2 separate regions of the Homo sapiens genome follow, and region 2 is linked to region 1. Evidence: promoter capture Hi-C in human tissues and cell types (Jung and others, 2019). All regions are on one chromosome and are shown on one strand. The core of a region is centred on a gene start or on the middle of the fragment in contact, and the rest is flanking DNA. Distances in the headings are between cores, read along the strand shown.

Region 1 (6,177 bases), core at 3,501-6,000:
ACTATATATTAAATTCTCATACACATTCTAGCTGTTTTATTGACAGTTTTCCTATTTCTACAACAACACTGCACTATTTTAATTACCCTAGCTTTTAGCATATATTTGGATATCTGGGAAGGCAAGCCAGTTGCATCTAGTCTTTAACATCGGTTTGCATTAACATTTTTAAAGTTTCGAATCTTCCCATTACAGAACATGGCATCCTTTGTTTTATTCGGGTCTTCTATGTTTTTTTCTTAAAGTCCCACAGTTTTCTTTTCTTTTTTCTTTTCTTTTTCTTTTTTTTTTTTTTGAGACAGAGTTTCACTCTTGTTGCCCAGGCTGGAGTGCAATGGTGCGATCTCGGCTCACTGCAACCTCCTCCTCCTGGGTTCAAGTGATTCTCCTGCCTCAGCCTCCTAAGTAGCTAGGATTACAGGCATGAACCACTACACCTGGCTAATTTTTGTATTTTTAGTAGAGATGGGGTTTCACCATGTTGGCCAGGCTTGTCTGGAACTCCTGACCTCAGGTGATCCACCTGCGTTGGCCTCCCAAAGTGCTGGGGTTACTAGCGTGAGCCACCGCGCCCAGCTAATTTTTGTATTTTTAGTAGAGAACAGGGTTTCACCATGTTGGCCAGGCTTGTCTGGAACTCCTGACCTCAGGTGATCCACCTGCCTCGGCCTCCCAAAGTGCTGGGATTACTAGCGTGAGCCACCGCACCCCGCCAGTTCCACAGTTTTCCACAAAAGGATCTCATACATTTCTTGCCAGGTTTATTCCTAGAGATTTCTGATATTTGAAGGGCATTGTGGATGGGCTCTTTTCTCCAATTACATTAGAATTAGTTATTGCTGATATATAAGAAAACTCTTAGGCCCTGAGAGGTGGCTCCCACCTGTAATCCCAACACTTTGGGAGGCCAAGGCAGGAGGATTGGTTAAGGCCAAGAGTTCAAGACCAGCCTGAGCAACATAGCAAGACTCCATCTCTACAAAAAAAAAAAAATTGAAAAATTAGCCAAGCATGGTGGCACACACCTGTGGTCCCAGCTACACAGAAGGCTGAGGCAGGAAGATCGCTTGAGCTCAGGAGTTTGAGGATGCAGTGAGCTCTGACAGTGCCACTGCACTCCAGCCTGTGTGTCGTCAGAGAGAAACACTATCTCTTTAAAAAGAGAAAGCTATTAGCTTCAGTATATACCAGTCTCATATCTAACCATTTTTAAGAGGTCCAGTAATTTTTAAAAATCAATGATCATAAATATTATAATCGGATTGTCTATAAATAAGCTGGATCGCTAAGCCTTCCTCAAACCTACTCAGCCACTTAGCACTCACTTCTGACACGAAAGTTACCTTTGGCCCCAGTCAAGAAAAAAAGAAAAATGCCTCTTACATGTGTATACTGGAAAATAGCGGCCCCTCGAAGGCCTGGTGCATGTTTTAGTGTGGCCCCTCTTCCATTCCAAGAGGATATTAAGCTCTCTGCTGCACCCTCCATCTGGCCTCATTTGTCTACACAGGAATTTCCTCAGTGTTAAGAACACAAATGTTCCAGTCATTCCTAAGATATTTGTGAAATTTGAAAGAAAAATCCAGTATTTAAACAATAGGGGTAACAAGCTACTGGATTTTAACAAGTAGAAAACTTCCTTTTGCAACAGTTGTTACTTTGCAGTCAAGGAGCTGTAGTCCCTAAAAAAAAAAGTGATCAAGGCTTAGCAAAAGTCTGAGGGAAAAATATAAGACAGAAGAAAAATAAAGACAAATCCTTCTCCTACAAAATGTAACAGAAATATCACCTTGCGACAGAGTCTCACTCTGTCGCCCAGGCTGGAGTGCAGCATGCGATTTCGGCTCACTGCAAGCTCTGCCTCCCAGGTTCACGCCATTCTCCTCCCTCAGCCTCCCGATTAGCTGCGACTACAGGCACTACTAAAATTAGCCGGGTGTGGTGGTGCACACCTGTAATCCCAGCTACTCAGGAGGCTGAGGCACGAGAATTGCTTGAACCGGGAGGCGGAGGTTGCAGTGAACCGAGATTGCACCACTGCACTCCAGCTTGGGCCACAGAGTGAGACCCTGTCTCAAAAAAAAAAAAAAAAAAGTCTACTACATTTATTCATTTATTTTATGGCCCTTTTCAGAAATCGTGTGCTGGCTGGCCCCTGCTGGGGTACAAAGCTGCAGAGGCAGAGGTATAGAGGAGGGTGAGTTCTGAATCTGCCTTGGTAGAGTGACATTATTGGAGGATCCCTTAGTGCTTTGACAAGAAGCAATTTGGCTATGGGTTGTGTTTTATAGTAGAGCTAAGTCGCTTATCTGGAAACAGTGATGTTTGACATGGAGAAAGACTTATGTTATCATTATTTTGGAAATCACAAGTGCTTCTTGCTGATTGATTTATTTTCTCCCCACCTCCCAAAGGAATTTGACCAGTTTGATTAAATTTCATTTATGTCAAGTGTACAAAATGTGTTGTAAGAGCTGTTTGTGTCAGAGACAGTAAACAAACCCCTTTAATCTTTTTTCTTGCGAGAGCAGGAAGTCACCACTTGCCAATGAGAAATTTAAAACAAATCCCACAAAGTTTTGAGTTTAGTTCAGCACGTGAAATAGTTGAGGTCTTGGGATCTTGTAATCTTGGCAACTCCCATTTGCTGTCCCTGGTGAGAACACTTGTGTACCGTTGCTTACTTTCCGGTTCACTAAGAGGGTCGCACCTTGCCCTCTTAATCCTAGAGTCAAATCTGATTACAAACATTTTCCTCTCGGGAATCCCGCTTGTAAGGAAGATCACTGTGCTCTCTGTTAAATAAAACAGCTCCATTTAGTTGCCTTATTCGTTCTCAGGCTTACTGTATTTCATCAGCCTAAAGACTGTGTTTGACATCAATTATTAGAGACCATTTGTTTTTACAATGGAAAAAGAAATAAAAGTGCAGATGTTGAACCTCAAAATCCATACTTCTCAGAGCTATTTTCATTCCAGAAAGTAGGAATGTGCTGGGGGGTTCTTGTGTGGGGAGAGGGGAGGTGAATGAATACAAAAATAGACATATCACTGTGACTAAGTAAAATATTTTGTGTTGTTTTTTCTATTAATTTCAAAATTAGAGAAAACTTTAGAACAGAAAAAAATAAGTGAATTATGGGAAAGTGAAAACTGCAGGACACATTCCAGTTTAGTTAAAATAATAGCTCCTGTCAAATCAAAAAAAAAATGATGAAAATTTCAGCTTTGTTATCAGAAAAGTAGTATGGTTAAAGATGGGCAGTCTTTGCACTTAAGGAGTCTCCTTAAACACAAGTTCCCATTCCCAGACCTCATAGGTGAATGTTGATAGCAGAGTTGGACCCTAGCAGCAACCAACTTTACAAATGTGGGCATTTCTGGACGGGCGCGGTGGCTCACGCCTGTAATCACAGCACTTTGGGAGGCCGAGGCAGGTGGATCACGAGGTCAGGAGTTCAAGACCAGCCTGGCCAAGATGGTCAAACTCTGTCTCTACTAAAAATACAAAAAATAGCCAGGGCTGGTGGCAGGTGCCTGTAATCCCAGCTACTCCGGAGGCTGAGGGAGAGAACTGCTTGAACCTGGGAGGCGGAGGCTGCAGTGAGCCGAGATCGCGCCACTGCACTCCAGCCTGGGCAACAGAGCGAGACTACATCTGAAAAAAAAAAAAAAAGAAGAAGTGGGCATTTCTTAATGGTCCAATCTCTTCCTTTAACTGTGCAGAGGAAGCCAAGCCCCCACTGAGAGGTGACAACATGCTGGTAGGCCTCGCAGCCGTCACTCACTCTCGGCTCCTCTGCCTGGGCTCCCACTTTAACGGCACTTGAGGAGCCCTTCAGCCCGCCGCTGCACTGTGGGAGCCCCTTCCTGGGCTGGCCAAAGCCAGAGCCGGCTCCCTCAGCTTGCGGGGAGGTGTGGAGGGAGAGACGCGGGCGGGAACCGGGGCTGCACGCCGCGCTTGCGCGCCAGTGCGAGTTCCGGGTGGGCGTGGGCTCGGCGGGCCCCGCACTCCAAGCAGCCAGCCCGCCCCGCCGGCCACGGGCAGTGAGGGGCTTAGCACCTGGGCCAGCAGCTGTTAGTGCTCGACTTCTCGCGGGGCCTTAGCTGCCTCCGTGCGGGGCATGGCTCGGGACCTGCAGCCCGCCATACCTGAGCCTCCTCCCCCGCGTCATGGGCTCCTGCGCGGCCTGAGCCTCCCCCACGAGTGCCGCCCCCTGCTCCACAGGACCCAGTCCCATCGACCACCCAACGGCTGAGGAGTGCAGGCGCACTGCACAGGACTGGCAGGCAGCTCCACCTGCGGCCCTGGTGCGGGATCCACTGGGTGAAGCCAGCTGGGCTTCTGAGTCTGGAAGGGACTTGGAGAACCTTTATGTTTAACTAAGGGATTGTAAATACACCAATGGGCACTCTGTATCTAGCTCAAGGTTTGTAAACACACCAATCAGCACCCTGTGTCTAGCTCAGGGTTTGTGAATGCACCAATCGACGCTCTGTATCTAGCTACTCTGGTGGGGACTTGGAGAACCTTTGTGTCCACACTCTGTATCTAGCTAATCTAGTGGGGACGTGGAGAACTTTTGTGTCCAGCTCCAGGATTGTAAACGCACCCATCAGCACCCTGTCAAAACGGACCAATCAGCTCTCTGTAAAACAGACCAATCGGCTCTCTGTAAAATGGACCAATCAGCAGGATGTGGGTGGGGCCAGATAAGAGAATAAAAGCAGGCTGCCCCAGGTAGCAGTAGCAACTTGCTGGAGTCGCCTTCTGTGCTGTGGAAGTTTTGTTGTTTTGCTTGTTTGCAATAACCGTTGCTGCTGCTTACTGTTTGGGTCCGCACTGCCTTTATGAGCTGTAACGCTCACCGTGAAGGTCTGCAGCTTCGTTCTTAAAGCCAGCCACATCACGGACCCACCGGGAGAAACGAATAACTCCAAACACGCCACCTTAAGAGCCGTAGCACTCATGATGAAGGTCCGTAGCTTCACTCCTGAAGTCAGCGAGATCACGAATCTGCCAGAAGGAAGAAACTCCGAACACATGCGAGCATCAGAAGAAACAAACTTGGGACACGCTGCCTTTAAAAACTGTAACACTCACCGCCAGGGTCCGCGGCTTCGTTCTTGAAGTCAGTGAGACCAAGAATCCGCCGATTCTGGACACACCATGACGGAACTAGGTAAGTGATAGGAGCTAGGAGAGCTGCTCACCAGAGGAGGTAGAGACCAAGTCTACAAGTGCATCCGGGGTATATTGAGAAACCGGGTAACTTCTGTGAAATGAGGCAAAGTACAAAAATCCTCTGCATCCCACTCATGGCAAGGTGGGCCCAGCTTCTCAGGACAGGGAGTGGGAGACTAGTGGGAGCAAATGGCGCTTCCCACCTGTTGGCAGTGAAGAGGCCTGCAGCCCACACCAGGAGCTAATTAAAGGGAATTGTTCCTGGTTCAGAATCCCAGAAAGCCACCAAGGGGGGTCTAATCCGCGGGGGTGATCCCAATTAAAAGGGAGCGCTTTATATCAGGAGGACAATTCAGCAGATGGAGCCACGTGGTCCTGCTGTCACACTGAGCTCTCTAGAGGCCGCAGGGTGCTTGAGAGGCTCTGCCTGCTTCCCTGAAGGGAGCTTCTCCTCCCCAGACCTAGATGGGGACAGAGAATCATGGGTCTTCTTCCTCTTAATATACAGCTTCAGGAAAAAAGTATTTTCAGTTTAAAAAAAAGTTTAAGAATATTTTTAGAGACAGGGTCTCACTCTGTCACCCAGGGTGGAGTGCAGAGGTGCAGTTACGACTGACGGCTCAAGTGATCCTCCCGCTTCAGCCTCCCTGAGAAGCCAGGACTATGGGCATATACCACGTTTTGAAAAAAATAATTGATGCAGTCTTGCCACGTTGCCCAGGTTGATCTTGAACTCCTGGCCTCAGGCTATCCTCCTACCTTGGCCTCTCAAAATGCTGAAATTAAAGGCGTGAGCCAGTGCACCTGGCCAAAAGTTTGTTTTGTTTTTAAATAGAATTCTCCGAAAGATCAAGATATTGGAAAACAGCTTTTTCGATAGAGGAAATAGCCTCAAATGTTAGCCTTTTTCAGTTATTCTGACACATTAAAAAGAGGACTGTCTGCAGAGCCAGGTGGCATGCCACGGCTGTGGCTCACTGTCAGTGGCATGT
Region 2 (6,494 bases), core at 2,420-4,919, 550 kb after region 1:
TTTTTTAACTGCTGCTGGTTTAGTTTGTTTTGTCTGATATAAGAATAGTTACTCTTGCTTGCTTTTGCCTGAAATGTCTTTTTCCACCCCTTTATCTTAAGTTTATGTGAGTCCTTATGTGTTAGGTGAGTCTCTTGAAGACAGCAGGTAGTTGGCTGATGAATCCTTATCCATTCTGCAATTCTGTATCTTTTAAGTGGACCATTTAGGCCATTTACATTCAGTGTTAGTATTGAGATGTGAGATACCACTCCATTCATCATGCTGTTTGTTGTCTGTATACCTTGGTTTTTTGTTTCTGTTTTTTAAATTATATTTTTGTTTTATAGGTCCTGTGAGATTTATGCTTTAAAGAGGTTCTGTTCTGATGTGTTTCCAGGATTTGTTTCAAGATTTAGAGCTCCTTTTAGCGGTTCTTGTGGTGGTGGCTTGGCTTGGTAGTGGCGAATTCTCTCAGCATTTGATTGTCTGAAAAAGACTACATCGTTCCTTCATATATGAAGGTTAGTTTCACCGGCTACAAATTTCTTGGCTAATTGTTTTGTTTGAGGAAGCTGAAGATAGGGCACCAACCTCTTCTAGCTTGTAGGGTTTCTGCAGAGAAATCTGCTGTTAATCTGATAGGTTTTCTTTTATAGGTTACCTGGTGCTTTTATCTGACAGCTTTAAAGATTCTTTCCTTTGTCTTAACTTTAGATAACCTGATGACAATGTGCCTAGGTGATAATCTTTTTGCGATGAATTTCTCAGGTGTTCTTTGTGGTTCTTGTATTTGGGTGTCTAGGGCTCTAGCAAGGCTGGGGAAGTTTTCCTCGATTATTTCCCCAAATATGTTTTCCAAACTTTTAGATTTCTCTTCTTCCTCGGGAGCACTGATTATTCTTACATTTGGCATAATCCCAGACTTCTTGGAGGCTTTGTTCATATTTTCTTATTATTTTTTCTTTGTCTTGTTGGATTGGGTTAATTTGAAGACCTTGTCTTTGAGCTCTGAATTTCTTTATTCTCTTTGTTCAATTCTATTGCTGAGACTTTCCAGAGCATTTTGCATTTCTATAAGTGTGTCTGTTGTTTCCCGGAGTTTTGATTTCTTTTTAATGCTATTTCCTTGAATATCTATTTCCTGCCTTCACTTCTTGTATCATTTTTTTGGATTTCCTTACAATGGGCTTCGCCTTTCTCTGGTGCCTCCCTGATTAGCTTAATAACTAATCTCCTAAATTCTTTTTCAGGTAAATCAGGTATTTCTTCTTTGTTTGGGTCCGTTGCTGGTGAGCTACTGTGATTTTTTGGAGATGTTAAAGAACCTTGTTTTGTCATATTACCAGAGTTGGTTTTCTGGTTCCTTCTCATTTGAGTAGGCTCTGTCAGAGGGAAGGGCTAGGGCTGAAGGCTTCTTTTGTCCCATGGGGTGTTCCCTTGATGTAGTGCTTTCCCCCTATTCCTGTGGATGTGGCTTCCTGAGAGCCAAGCTGTAGTGATTGTTATTTCTCTTCTGGGTCTAGCCAGCCAGCAAGTCTACCAGGCTCCAGCTGGTACTGGGGGTTGTCTGCACAGAGTCCTGTGATGTGAACCGTCTGTGGGACTCTCAGTCATGGATACCAGCACAGTATTTGGGGTGTCTCCTGGGTCCTGCAGGAGCAATCTGCTTCCTTCAGGGAGTCTGTGGGTCCTCTCAGGTTTCCTGATTTATTCCTGCAGTTGTTCTGGAGCAAAAATTTACAATGCGAGCCTCCACACACTGCTCTGTCTGTCCCAGTCAGAGCTGCAATCTAGTCCTGCCTCCCGTCCGCCATGTTCCCCAGTCGTGCCTTTTGAAACAAAACATTTAAAACATTGATGAAGTTAGGTTTGTCAATTGATTGTGTTCTGGGTGTTGAATCTAAGAACTCTTTGCCTAACCCAAGGTTGGGGAGATTTTTACTTTTTCTAAAAGCTTTATAGTTTTAGCTCTTACATTCATGTCTATGATCCATTTTGAATTATTTTTTTATGTATGATGTAAAGTAAAGGTCCAACCTCACTTTATAAAATACCTGATACATTAAAAAATATGAATAAGCTTTATTTTTAGAATAGTTTTTAGTTTTATAGAAAAATTGAGGGGCAAGTACAGAGTTCCAATGTATCCTCTCCCCCAATCATTTCCCCTATTGTTAACATATTGCGCTAGTGAGGTACGTTTGTTACAATTGATGAACCAATATTGACATATACACTAGTTTTCTAGGGCTTCCATAACAAAATACCACAGACTGGGTGGCTTAAACTAGGGGTCCCCAGTCCCCGGGCCATGGACTGGTACCAGTCTGTGGCCTGTTAGGAGCTGGGCTGCACAGCAGGAGGTGAGGGGTGGGCGAGTGAGCAAAGTTTCATCTGTATTTACGGTCACTCCCATTGCTCATGTTACCACCTGACCTTTGCCTCCTGTCAGATCAGTGGCAGCATCAGATTCTCGTAAGAGTGCGGACCCTACTGTGAACTTCACATGCGAGGGGTCTAGGTTGCGTGCTCCTTATGAGAATCTAATGCCTGATGATCTGTCACTGTCTCCCATCACCCCCAGATGGGACCATCTAGTTGCAAGAAAACAAGCTCAGGGCTCCCACTGATTCTACATTATAGTGAGTTGTATAATAATTATTTCATTATATATTACACCATAATAATATAAATAAAGTGCACAATAAATGTAATGCACTTGAATCATCCTGAAACCATCCCCTCCGTTTCCTGGTCCATGGGAAAATTGTCTTCCATGAAACTGGTTCCTGGTGCCAAAAATGTTGGAGACTACTGACTTAAACAACAGAAATTAATTTTCTCACAGTTATGGAGGCCAGAAGTTCAAGGTCAAGGTGTCAGAAAGCTTGTTTTCTTTAGAGGCTTCTTCTTGGCTTGCAGATGGCTGCCTTCTCACTATGTCCATACTTGGTCTTTTCTCTACTTGAGTATTGCTGGTATCTTTCTGTGTGTCCAGATTTCTTCTTATAGGGACACTAGTCCCTGTAAGAAGGTTGGAGTGGTGCATATCCTAATGCCTCCTTTTTAGCTTCATGACCTCTTTTAAAGGCCTTATCTCCAACCAGCTGCAAAGAAAGTATCTTCTGAGGTACTGTGGGTTTGCGAATGTGGGAGACACAAGGTTCAGCCTATAAGAATAGATTATCATTAACTGAAGTTCATAGTTTACATGAGAGCTTACTCCATGTTGTAACTTCTATGGGTTGTGACAAATGTTTAATGGCATGTGTCCACTGTTGTAATATCACACAGGGTAGTTTCACTGCCTAAAATTCCTCTGTACTCTGTCTACTCATCCTTCTTACTCCTGGCCCTGGTAACCACAGATCTTTTTTTTTGAGACGGGGTCTCACTCTTGTCACACAGGCTGGAATGCAGTGGTGTGATGTTGGCTCACTGCAACCTCCACCTCCCCAATTCAAGCAGTTCTCGTGTCTCAGCCTCCCAAGTAGCTGGGATTACAGGCATGAGCCACCATGCCTGGCTCAGTTTTTGTATTTTTAGTAGAGATGGGGTTTCGCCATGTTGACCAGGCTGGTCTTGAACTCCTGACCTCAGGTGATCCACCCACCTTGGCCTTCCAAAGTGCTCGAATTACAGGTGTGAGCCACCGCGCCCGGTCACCATGCCTCCCTAGTTTTGCCTTTTCCAGAATGTAATATACAGTCATTTGTCACTTAGCCACAGGGATATGTTTTGAGGAATGCATTGTTAGGCAATTGCATCATTGTGTGAACATGATAGAATGTATTCACATAAGACTTGATGGCAGAGCCTGCTGCACTCCTAGGCTGTGGAGTATGGCCTGTCATCTCTAGGCTACAAACCTGTATAGCTCGTTACTGTACTCATTACTGGAGGCAATTGTAACATAATGGTATTTCTGTATCTAAACATATGTAAATATAGAAAAGGTACAGTAAAGAGATTTAAAAACAGTATGCTCGTGTAGAGTACTTACCGTGAGTGGAGCTGCAGGACTGGAAGTTTCTCTGGGTGATTCAGGGAGTGAGTGAGTGGTGAGTGAATGTGAAGGCCTAGGACAGTACTGTGCACTACTGTGCACTTTAGAAACACTGTACACGTAGGTTACACTAAATGTCTACTTTTTCCTTCAATAATAAATGAACTGTAGCTTACTGTAACCTTTTTACTTTACAAAAACTTTTTGATTTTTTTAACTTTTTGACTCTTTTGTAATAACACTTGGCTAAAACATAAATACATTATGCAGCTGCACATAAATATTTTCTTATTCTATAAGCTTTAATTAAAAAAAATTTTTTTTTAAGTTTAAAAATATTTCTTGCTGAAAGCAAAGAGACAAACACACTCCTTAGCCTAGGCCTACTCAGGGTGAGGATTGTCAATATCACTGTCTTCCACTTCCACATCTTGTCCCACTGGAAGGTCTCCAGGGGCAGTAACATGCGTGGAGCTATCATTTCCTAGGATAACTGCCTTCTTCTGGAATACCTCCTAGAGGACCTGCCTGAGGCTGCTTTACAGTTAATTTTGTTTTTATAATGAGTAGAAGGTGTACGCTCTAAAATGACAATACAAATATAGTATAGTAAATACATAAACCAGTATCAGTCATTTATTATCATTATTGGGTATTAGGTACTGTGCATAATTGTATGTGCTAGACTTTTTTTTTTTTTTTGGCAGAGGCTTGTTCTCTTGCCCAGGCTGGAGTGCAGTGGTGCAATCTCGGCTCACTGCAATCTCTGCCCCCTGGGTTCAAGCAATTCTCCTGCCTCAGCCTCCTGAGTAGCTGGGATTACAGGTGCATGCCACCACACCTGGCTAATTTTTTTTATATTTTTGGTAGAGATGGGGTTTCACTATGTTAGCCAGGCTGGTCTCAAACTCCTGACCTCAAGTGATCCTCCCACCTCGGCTTCCCAAAGTGCTGGGATTACAGGCATGAGCCACCATGCCCGCCTGTATGTGCTAGACTTTTATATGACTGGCAGTGTGGTAGGTGTGTTTACCCCAGCATCACCACAAACACATGAATAGCGTGTTGCATTACGACTTTATGATGCCTATGACTATCACTAGGCGACAGGAATTTTTCAGCTGTATTTTAATCTTATGGGATCTCCATTGCACATGTGGTCCATTGTTGACTGAAACGTCTTTATGAAGCACATTACTGTAGTTGGAATCCAATGGAATGTCATTGTTCAGTTAGCTTCTTTCACTTAGTAATATGCCCTTATGGTTTTTCTATATCTTTTTATAGTAATAACTCATTTCTTTTTAGTGCAGAATAATGTTACATTGACTGGATAAGCCACAGTTTATCCACTCACCGTCCGAAGTACATCCTGATTGCTTCTAAGTTCTAGTAATTATGAATAAATATTTGTGTGCAGATTTTTGTGTGAACATCGTTTTCAACTCCGTTGAGTAAATATCAAGGAGTGTGACTGCTGAATCACAAGGTAAGAGTATGTTTAGTTCTGTAAGAAACTGCCAAAATGCCTTCCAAAGTGGCTGCACCATTTTGTATTCTGACAAGCAATGAATGACAGTTCCTGTTGTTCCACATCCTCACCAGCATTTGTTGTTGTCTGTGTTAAAGAATTTGGCTATTCTAGGCCAGGTGTGGTGGCTCACACCTGTAATCCCAGCACTTTGGGAGGCCGAGGCAGGCGGATCACCTGAGGTCAGGAGTTCGAGACCAGCCTGACCAACATGGCGAAACCCTGTCTTTACTAAAAATACAAAAATTAGTTGGGCATGGTGGCACATGCCTGTAATCCCAGCTACTTGGGAGGCTGAGGCAGGAGAATCGCTTGAACCCAGGAGGCGGAGGTTGCAGTGAGCTGAGATCGCGCCATTGCATTCCAGCCTGGGCAATAAGAGCGAAACTCTGTCTCAAAAAAAAAATAATTTGGCTATTCTAATAGGTGTGTAGTGGCATCTCATTGTTTAAATTTGTGATTTCCTAATAGCATATGATGTGGAGCATCCTTTCATATGCTTAGTTGTAGAATTACAAAGAGGATTTTGATAGAGCCAGCATTGAGTTTACAGATCATTTTGGGAAGAATTATTGTAAGAATTGAGTCATCCAATCCATGCACATGGAATTTCTCTTCATTTATTTAGCTCTTCTTTAATTTCTCTCAACAATGTCTTGTAGTTTTTGGTGTTCAAGATTCTTTTGTTAAACATACTCTTAATTATTTACTTCTTTTTAATGCTATTGTAAATTAAATTGCATCTTTATTTAATATTAAAGCCTTTTAGTTTTGGAAGACTTCACAATTACAAGAACATTGCTCTCATCTTCTATATATTGAAATAATATAATTGCAAGCAAGTTGGTACTGTCATCTCAAGCGCATCAAGCTTGAAATCCCAAATATTTTATAGTTACTGTCTCAAGAGAAATGAACTTCCTTATTGGCTGTAGATTATTTATTTTTAAATTCATTTTTGGTATGAAATAGTAA

Evidence for each region. Contacts are between HindIII fragments. The study calls those that stand out against the background at their distance.
Region 2: a fragment that was not itself captured here is called in contact with the fragment with the promoter of PGPEP1L in region 1 in 4 of the 25 tissues and cell types used here (dorsolateral prefrontal cortex, hippocampus, mesenchymal stem cells and 1 more).

What each region holds. Positions count from the first base shown.
Region 1 is chr15:99,006,365-99,012,541 of GRCh38, reverse strand. PGPEP1L (pyroglutamyl-peptidase I like) reads left to right here and starts at 4,750. Exons shown (of 5, transcript NM_001167902.2): 1 at 4,750-5,183. The HindIII fragment of the contact is 12,693 bases long and covers 1-6,177 here.
Region 2 is chr15:98,453,369-98,459,862 of GRCh38, reverse strand. It overlaps the pseudogene FAM169BP. Among named protein-coding and RNA genes, the nearest start is that of LINC02351, 36 kb to the right of the region's middle. The HindIII fragment of the contact is 3,340 bases long and covers 2,000-5,339 here.